Linked DNA regions of Homo sapiens: region 2 is linked to region 1. The links are contacts of gene promoters, found by promoter capture Hi-C in human tissues and cell types (Jung and others, 2019). All regions are on one chromosome and are shown on one strand. Each heading gives the region's core, a stretch centred on a gene start or on the middle of the fragment in contact. The rest is flanking DNA. Distances are from core to core; before and after follow the strand shown.

Region 1 (5,236 bases), core at 1,496-3,995:
TCTATTTCATGCAACTGGGAGACTCCTAACTGACTGATTCCACTACCCTTGGTTAACTCCTGTTTATTATTTATGTCCTGGCCCTTCTCTGTCAATGAACTACAAGCCCTTTGAAAGCATGAGCCATGTCTTATTCAATTTTATATCCCTTACAGTATCTGGCAGAGTGCTTTGGACAAAATAGATTTGTTAAGCAAAAAAGGAATATTCATTTCTTAACTGCTTAGTAGATAAACTATAAACCAAGTTTAAAATCCACTTGGGGCCGGGTGTGGTGGCTCACACTTGTAATCCCAGCACTTTGGGAGGCCAAGGTGGGTAGATCACCTGGGGTCAGGAGTTCGAGACCAGCCTGGCCAACGTAGTGAAACCCCGTCTCTACTAAAAATACAAAAAAATTAGCTGGGCATGGTGGCGGGCACCTGTAATCCCAGCTACTCGGGAGGCTGAGGCAGGAGAATCACTTGAACCCAGGAGGCGGTGGAGGCGGAGGCTGCAGTGAGCAGAGATTGTGCCACTGCACTCCAGCCTGGGCGATAGTGCGAGACTCCATCTCAAAAAAAAAAAAAAAAACAAGTGTGTGGAGGGACTTTCGCCTTTCATTTTAAACCTTTCTGATAGAATGTTTTACTATGTGCATGTATTGCTTTTCTTTTCTTTTGAGACGGGGTCTTACTTTGTTACCCAGGCTGGAGTGCAGTCCATGATCACAGTTCACTGCCGCCTCGACCTCCCAGGCTCAAGCAATCCTCCTACCTCAGCCTCCCAAGTAGCTGTGACTACAGGCATGCAGCACCACACTCAGCTAATTCTGAAAACATTTTTTTGTAGAGATGGGGTCTCACTATGTTGCCCTGGCTGGTCTCAATGGTCTTGAACTCCTGGACTCAAGTGATCCTTCTGCCTTGGCTTTTTTCTTTGTTAACTAAGAAAAAAAGGAGGCAGGGCAGAGGGGTAAGGAGTTGGTAAGCCAGGTAGATAAATATGTAAGTACGCACAACACTTCTTAACTTGTAGTATGGTCTGATCTATAGGGGCTCTTCCCAGGGCACTTCCGTCTTTCACTGGAAAAGCCTCCTTTCCAGAAATAGCACCTAAAACCAATTTCTTTTGGCTTTCTTACTGAAATTATTTTTTATTCTATTGCAATTATTTTTATTCTACTTCCTGACGTTGCAAAAGTCTATCCGTATAGTATTTTCTTCAAAATTTTCCCCAATCCTGTACTTGGTATATATTGTGTAAATATTTATTTATATCACCCCCATTTGCCTGAAGTGCTCTGCTGCCCCGGGAAGTGCTGAGGATCACCACTTATCCCAGAAGAGCAGCTCTTAGGGCAGACTGCTCTCAGAAGCACATTTATCCGCACTCTGGCAGGGAACCTCCCAACCATCCCACGGTTCCAACTCAATTCAACGGTTACCGGCTACATACAATGCCTGACACAAGGAAGATGCCAGGAATAGAAAAATGAACCAAGTATAGTGCCTGTCCTCCAGGAGACAGCAGATGCCAACACAACTACCTGCAATACAAACTCTCATATACCCTTGAGGGAGTCCTAGCCAGATCACACAACTGTCTCTGTTCAGAGGCCAAAAGCAGCCTTGAATTCCACCTCCGACCCTTTCTGACAAGACTCCTCCAGTCCCACCAACCTGAGAATAACAAAAACCTGCTCCTCAATTTTAGTAAATATTAAGCACTATTCCTTATAAAACACTGTACAAAGTACAAGCATATTCATTTTACTTTTTAAATTAAAATTTTTAAAAGGCACGGTCTTGCTCGGTTGCCCAGGTTGGAGTGCACGATCCTACCTCAATGCAGCCTGGAACTCCTGGGCTCAAGAGATCCTCCCAACCTTAGCTTCCCGAGTAGCAGGGACTACAGGTGCGCGCCACCATGCCTGGCTTTTACAAGCACATTAGTTTTCACCTCACAATAATCCAGTACGACAGATACTCTAACTACATCCTCTTTTTCAGAGGAGGAACTGAGATTCAAAGATGCAGATAACATCACCAAGTTAGTAATAGAACAGAGATCCGACTGACTCCCGGGTTGACATCCTTAACCACTATGCTAACCGGCCTCCTCAAACCCTCCAGGACACGATGCGACAGGTTGGGGAAGTCACTCCTTTCTTTTAGGCATGGATCGGAGGAGAAGGACACTGGAGAAGTTTCCATTTCCATACGAAGAATTTCAGGGTCAACTGCATCTAAACTGCTCGCAAGACAGACCCTCCCCCGTCCAGCATCAGACGACCTGCAGAGAGGCCACCAGAACCAGCTACAGGGCACGGCCCCCGAGGGTGGGACCCCAAGGCCTAGCCCCTCCCATGGCCTCCCGCGGACAAAGTGGCCATCGCTGCCGCTGGCACTTCTCCAGTGTGGCCGAGCCCCCCACGCCTGGGCACCATTCACCGTGGAAGTAGTCGGCGCCGCGACCCCCGGCTGGACGACGCGGAGGACACCCAATGACAGGGAAGCTGGGGCCCCACGGCCGCGCCTGCCCCTCCCCACGCTAGAAGGGCTCGCGGGGCGGAGGTCCCAGGAGTTGCCAGGGCCAAGCGGTCCGAAGGAGGATGACTGAGTGGGGGCAACCCTGCCCGCTAACCCCAATCTCCAGCCAGCCTCCCGGGTGCTAGGAATCCTCCCCAAACCAACGAAAGCGGCAGCGCCAACCCGCTTCTTCGCGCTCACCTTCCAGCGGGTTCCAGCAGCGCAGCCACGGAGCACCGCGCACCGACACGCCCCCCTTTCATTCACCTGGCGCCCTCCGATGAGAGGCGGGGCGGCTGGCCAATCGCGGGAGCGCCTGGCCTCGGGAAGGCGGGCCCTTCGGCCAGCAGGGTGGTCAATGGCGCTGGTGCCCCTCGGAGGATGCGCTCTGAAGGCGCTGGTGCTCGCAGGGTGATGGGAGTTGTGGTCTCAGCGCTGGCTTTTCGGGTAAAGATAGAGTGGACAAAACTACAAGTACCAAGATGCCAAAAGGGGCGAGGACCAGTGCTAGCGAAAGGCTGCAGCTCGGTTCGGTCTTTTGAGTCCCACTTGAGGGACCTGCCAAGTACCGGTCTCTTTGTCTGGAGAGCGAAAAGCACGTCGTGGGTATTAATGCAGTCCAGGGAATAAGAGCTTTGACTCATCAGTCCGCACATATTTCACCTACTGGCGCTTTCCGCAAAAATCTGGAAATAAGGGAAATGGTTTAATCGATTCAACAGGTTTTTATTGCATACCCGCGGTTTCTTTCACTGGGTAGTCGTTACAAAAGATAAAAGATTCAGCTCTTCCCTTGACAGGCTCTCCGGTTCATACATACTAGTGAAACGGTTAAATGGCAGTACTAGGTGCTAAGTGACCGTACAGGCGTGTTCTTGTCAGCTGTGAGCAAGACAAGGCAGCTTACCGCTCTCAGGGAGCTTAGTTCTCATGGGGGTGTATTCGTTTGCTAGGGCTGCTGTACCTAAGTATCACCAACCCGGTGGCGTCAATAACAGATCTTATTGTCTGACAATCCTGGGGGCATCTGAAAGCAAGATGTTGGCAGGGTTCTTTCCTTCTGAGCGCTGTGAGGAAACGGTCTCTTCCAGGCTTCTCTCCTGGGCTTGCATATGGCCATCTTCATGTTCACAGGGCATATTCCCTGTATATGTCTCCATGTCAAAATGTCTCCTTTTGGTTGCAGTGAGTCGAGATCGCGCCACTGCACTCCAGCCTGGGGCGACAGAGAGAGACTCCGTCTCCAAAAAAAAAGTATTTTTATAAGGATACCAGTCATATTGGATTAGGGGTTCACTCTATGCCAGTATGACTTTTTTTTTTTTTTTTTTTTTTTTTTTGAGACGGAGTCTCAGACTCTGTTGCCCAGGCTGGAGTGGTGGCGGGTGGATCACCTGAGGTCAGGAGTCCGAGACCAGCCTGGCCAACATGGTGAAACCCCATCTCTACTAAAAATACAAAAATTAGCCGGGCGTGGGCCAGTAATCCCAGCTACTTGGGAGGCTGAGGCAGGAGAATGCTTGAACCAAAGAGATTGCAGTGAGTGGAGATCTGGCCACTGCACTCCAGCCTGGGCAGCAGAGCAAGACTCTGTCTCAAAAAAAAAAAAAAAAAAAAAAAAGGCTACCCCCTTCGCTGAGAGACCCTAATGAGGAGTAGTGAGCCATGCTAAGATAAAACAGAAAACCGGTTGGTACATATCTAAGAAACAGGAGAATGCCATTGGGTTGAGGAAGTGGATGGCAGGTAGACCAGCTTAATGGACGTGCAACCCACGCAGTGGCACAGGCCCGCACACTCAGAAAGGGCTGGTGCTTCCAGGTGAGGTTTTATACTTAACAAAACAAAACAAAAAAAGAGCCAGGTGCGGTGGCTTACACCTGTAATCCCAGCACTTTGGGAGGCTGAGGCGGGCGGATCACTTGAGACCAGCCTGGCCAACATGGCAAAACCCAGTGTCTACTAAAAATACAAAAATTAGCTGGGCATGGTGACACATACCTGTAATCCCAGCTACTCGGGAGGCTGAGGCATGAGAATCACTTGAACATGGAAAGTGGAGGTTGCAGTGAGCTGAGATTGTGCCACTGCACTGTTTCAAGGAGGAGGAGGACGAGGAGGAGGAGAGAGGGAAGAGGGAAGAAGAAGAAGAGGAAGAGGAAGGAGAGGAAGGAGAAGGAGGAGGAGGAGAAGAAGAAGAAGAAGAAAGATTTAATTACTAACAAAAAGAAAATCTAAATAAATATTTTAAAAATTAAAAAAAAGGAAAGGGCTGATGCCTGGTTTAATGCTCTGCCATTGCCCTCTTAAAATTCTTAGTAGTTTTTGAACAAGGAGCTCTGCATTTTCATTTTGCATTGGGCCCCACAAATTATGTAGCCAGTCCAAGCGACAGGAAATATGAATGGATAGAGAAGCAAAGGCCAGATTATGTAGGAATTTGTAGGCCACCTTAAGGAGTTTGGATTTTTTCTTATGAATGTGAAGGGACACCTTCGAAGGATCTTAAGCAGGGAAGAGATAAGATATGATCTCTCCCCTGCTGATAGATGCTGATAACTGGGGATAGGGTAGAGGTGGTAGAGATGGAGGGGTTTGTTTAGGATATATTTTAGAGCTTGTCAAAAATGTAATTGCAGTTCACTCTAAAGATAACTTAATAATTTTAGAAGGTAAAATGTCAGCCAAACACCACTATACTATCTATCAAAGAAAAGTAGTTTACC
Region 2 (5,029 bases), core at 1,713-4,212, 47 kb after region 1:
TCAGATAAGACCTTTTAAAGCTGAGCCCAGCCATGGGTTTGTATCCTCAAATACCTGTGAGTTGGGTGATCCTCTTCTCATAAGGTCCCAAGATAAACTTGGAGCTCCTGGACCTGTTAGAAAGTGACATTCTTTACTGACCACAGGTTAAGAACCCTGTGTGGGAACTGTGCAGACAAGGTATGAGGCCTTGTTCTCCCCATGGGGCTTTTATCAGCTCAGCAAGTCAAGATTGACTCCTTAAAGGAAAGCATACCCTTCCAGTCAAAGCCTTGGTAAAATAACCAGGTTTTCCAATTGTGTCCTGTTGCAAAAGAAAAATGGATTCTTATCGCACCGATGCAAACAACTATATTGTCATAAGTTAAGAATACGTGCAGATAGTTTCCAAATTCTAGAGGAACCAGGCAGACAGAAACATGCTCCAAATTTTGTTCACAAGAGTATGCCTTACTCAATTATATAAGGCCATAAGTCGTTCAAAATACATTTCCTTGACTCTGAAAAACCAAACAAGGATCAGCAATATTTCAAGCAAAAGTCAAAAAGGTTGCTTTAACTTTCTGAGTGCAGTCCATTTAGTTAGCTCTTGTTTTGCTTGATATTCGTGAACATTTCAGTTATTCATGAGTCCCATACATTCTTTCTCTATTACAATGTTACAATCTTCAAAGCTATTAAAAACCTGCCTTTGAGAACACCTGTTAAAGTCTTATAGCTTGATTATAACCCATCTTTTGAGAAGGAACAAAGCAAGACAAAAATTATCTGTGAATGACAAAATTTCCAGGGTAGTTACAGTTAAAAACATGACTGACAAAGAAGTTTAGTTATATTTGTGGTTTACAATAACTTAACATAACAACCTTAATTACGATTGATAGCATATACTCATACATTAGAATTTTAGAAATCTCATATGATTTTGGAACATGTATTAGTATAATTCACCAAAATATAACTTAAAGAAGATTGGACATTGGCTGGGCATGGTGGCTCAGGCCTGTAACCCCAGCACTTTGGGAGGCCAAGGTGGGCAGATAACCTGAGGTTGGGAGTTCGAGACCAGCCTGACCAACGTGGAGAAACCTCGTCTCTATTAAAAATACAAAAAATTAGCCAGGTGCAGTGGCACATGCCTGTAATCTCAGCTACTCGGGAGGCTGAGGGTAGGAGAAAGGCTTGAACCCGGGAGGCGGAGGTTGCAGTGAGCTGAGATCGTGCCGTTGCACTCCAGCCTGGGCAACAAAAGCAAAACTCCATCTCAAAAAAAAAAAAAAAAAAAAAACCGCCAGGCGCAGGGGCTCATGCCTGTAATCCCAGCACTTTGGGAGGCCAAGGTGGGTAGATCACGAGGTCAGGAGATCGAGACCATCCTGGCTAACACGGTGAAACCCTGTCTCTACTAAAAATACAAAAAATTAGCCAGGTATGGTGGCGGGCACCTGTAGTCCCAGCTACTCGGGAGGCTGAGGCAGCAGAATGGTGTGAACCCGGGAGGCAGAGCTTGCAGTGAGCAGAGATTGCACCACTGCACTCCAGCCTGGGTGACAGAGTGAGACACCATCTCAAAAAAAGAAAAAAAAAAAAAGAAGCTTAGACATCATTTTGGCAATCTCATGTGACTAAACATGTCAAATAATCCTGTTTACCTCTTCTCTGGATTATTCAGGGGAACTGTGAACCATCCAGAAAGCCAGGCATCAGGAAAGACAATTTTGAAACTTGAAGTTTGATTTTGGGATGCCTGTTAAATGTTAGAGGTTTAAAACACTTGATGTTATGAAATAGAATTCTAGAATGCCATAAATTATTTATTTTGCCAAAATGATGACTCAGAAGGCAAAAACCATTCATTAGCCTTTACTATTACATAAAAATTCTGCTTAAAGACAAATTTTAACCTTGCATTAGTTTGTTAATGTTAACCCCAATGTGTTTAAATGAAACCTTATAGACAATTCTATCTATTGACCATGAGGTGGTCAATTTGACCACAAGGTGAAATCTTTACAAACCCTTTATAACCCCTTTTGCTAAAGGGCAGATTAGTGTCTTAAGACAACCTTGCTGTGCTTTTATTTCAATGTTCAATTTATGAAAAAACCATATAATATCCTTTTGAATTCAGTTAATTTTTATACATTTTTTGCAAGATTACTTTTTACAATCTTTCTATAACTTGCTTAAACCTCTAGCTCTCTTATCAAATTTAACATAATCCCTCATACCAGGGCAAAATTTACATTTCCATGCTTTCTTATAATCTTTACTAAAAAACACATTTTACTGTTTTTATACACCTTGCATGTAAAACTGTTTAGTGATCTCAAATACATGCTGCACTGTTAACTCTTAGCAACTTTTACTTTTGGTGAAAAACCTGGTAAGTAAGCAATTTTAATTATGTACCAAGTGTGGAGCCTAGGACCCAGACAGAAGTGCAGATAAGGTCTGACTCTTTCCAGCATCTAACTCCACATGTCCCAGGCCTTACCCATCTGCAAAGCAGGCAGTATACAACCTTGGAACATTTAGCAAACCTAGTATCTAAGTTGTATGTATTAGACCACCTATTTGCATTTTACCAATAATCCTTATGACTAATTTCTTAAAGACTAAAGTCACGTGAACTAAAAAATATTTGATTTAAGCCCTTATTTTTCTTTCAGCCAATCAATTAGAGCTCTTTTTATAGACATTACACACAAAACATATATAGCGACACAGACACAAGATTCAGCACTTGTTAGATTTTTTATTTGCCGGTTTCTTAATTAAATTATTGGTTTCAGGGTGGAGCCCTTGGAGGAACAGGGCCAGGAAGGCATGCATTTCTAGGGCATAATAAGCAGGCACGGCTGAAGGCAAAGACAGATCCTCAAAATTAAGGGTGTCATTTGATATTGGATCCCCCAAATAGGAGAGATACTATGGGAGAAGACAGTGCAGTGCTTCTACTGTGCATTTCATTGCAAAGCAACCCAAAGCCAATCAACTTATTTTGTAATTAGCCCATCTCCCATGGGAGTCTCATCTCTCGTTGTGGGGATAGGGGGAATGTTTCTGTATCTTTCAGGTGACCAAGAGCATGCTTCTCTGATTTATAACTACTATTAGCCATCCCTTAAAGTGTATTTGCTACCTAGTTATTACACACCAAACCTCTCTCCTAATGTAATTTGATACTCCCAAAATTCAAAACTGTCAGATAACATAATGCAAAACATAATGCAAAAATAAAGCCTTTGATTTTGAGAGAGAAATATCTGCTTCTAGTTCCTGGGGTTTCATGGGGAAAACGAGGTTTTTCTCCCAAAACAGGGTCTGTGGTGCCTCCTCTGGTTTTCCCAAGGAATCCCATGCTACCAGAAGTTATCTTAGAGCCTCTCATTGTGCATTACGAGTGGCAAGATAAAAAATGTAGACTAATAATTCAGTCAACTGAGAAGGAAAAAACCTTTTTCCAGAAAAACAAGATCCAAAAAGAGAAAAACATAAAGGCCATTAAAATATACCTATAACTTGAATATCCACTTTTAATTAACCTGAGTACTCTTTAACAAAATCCTTTTAAATCCCTTGTAACTTGACATTAGCCACCTCAAGCAGTTAAGATTTTTGGCTTTTGAAATTTACAAAAAGTAACCTCACAGGTGAAATCGACAAGCCTTAATTAGGTTATGACTTAACCATGAGTGCATGTGTACAAGGTATTTTTAAAGGGGTGATAGGCGGTTTTTGAAACTGTCATTTCAAAATTGTGACCACGATAGTGAAAGAGATCCAACCCAACCAACTCCATTTTGTTTCCAGCCCCCAAGCTTTCCTTGCTTATCCCTGGGCGTAGACCAAACCAACTTTGGGAGGAGCCTGGTTTAGAGTTTATAGTCTAAAATAAAGATGATGACAGCCCCTTCTTAAGATTTACTTCCTTCTTGCCTGGGTACCAGACCAGGAAACTAGCCACAAGATTAAAAACCATGGCCTAGAAGTCACACAGCTGGAGCCTACAAGATTTTGACTCTCCCTAAACTGCTCTCAAGATCGGTGCTGGCTGGGTGCGGTGGCTCACACCTGTAATCCTGGCACTTTGGGAGGCTGAGGCGGGCAGATCATGAGGTCAGGAGATCAAGACCATCCTGGCTAACATGGTGAAACCCCATCTCTACTAAAAATACAAACAAAAAAAAAAATTAACCGGGCGTGGTGGCAGGCGCCTGTAGTCCCAGCTACTCAGGAGGCTGAGGTAGGAGAATGGCGTGAACCCGGGAGGTAGAGCTTGCAGTGAGCCGAGATGGCGCCACTGCACTCCAGCCTGGGTGACAGAGCGAGACTCCACCTTAAAAAAAAAAAAAAAAAAGATCAGTGCTGAAGACATTTTTAAACCCTCCCCTGGATGGATCAGCTGGCACCATCCAGGTTGACAAACTGGCTTATCTGATTTTGTGGCCCTCACTCAGGAACTGATTTAGCATAAGAAGACAGCCATCATGTAAAATGGTGGCAACTAAAACAAAGTACTGCCATGTGGTTATGGGTCATGATCCCAAGGACATGAAACAAGATAGAGACCTGTAGCCAAGTTTATTACTGACCATTCTGTTGGGCTGCCTTGAACAGCAGGCTTATGAGGTCCACGGTCTGTATCCGAACCTAAGGTACCCTTTCTCTTAACAGAACCATATGGAAAGACACACAAAGCACATCAGAATGGCTACAGCTTAAGACCAACCTCACGATTTTTTTTGATTAATTAAAACTTTACAGAGAATATAAACAATGAACCTTATTATCCCTTTCGCTGGTTTGCATAGGGAGAGAAAAGCCAAAAGCTTGACTGTTAGAAAAAACTTCTACCCTTTTGCCAGCGTGTCAGGCTTCTGGGTTCCCTTCCCCTAGCTCAACTCTAAGCCAAGCATTTTAAGGTTTGGAGAAACTAACTTTTCCCAGTTTGGAAGAACATTATGAAAGAGCCATTTTAAACTGTGAAAGTAGGCCAGGTACAGTGGCTCATGCCTGTAATCCC

What was found. The method cuts DNA at HindIII sites, captures the fragments that hold promoters and counts their contacts. A contact is called where the count stands out against the background at its distance.
Region 2: a contact is called between a fragment that was not itself captured here and the fragment with the promoter of ZBTB8B in region 1, in 2 of the 25 tissues and cell types used here (H1 embryonic stem cells and mesenchymal stem cells).

Annotation. Positions count from the first base shown.
Region 1 is chr1:32,462,581-32,467,816 of GRCh38, reverse strand. It overlaps ZBTB8B (zinc finger and BTB domain containing 8B), which reads right to left and starts at 2,745. Exons shown (of 4, transcript NM_001145720.2): 1 at 2,712-2,745. The HindIII fragment of the contact is 24,686 bases long and covers 1-5,236 here.
Region 2 is chr1:32,415,788-32,420,816 of GRCh38, reverse strand. No RefSeq gene overlaps it. Among named protein-coding and RNA genes, the nearest start is that of BSDC1, 24 kb to the right of the region's middle. The HindIII fragment of the contact is 4,517 bases long and covers 704-5,029 here.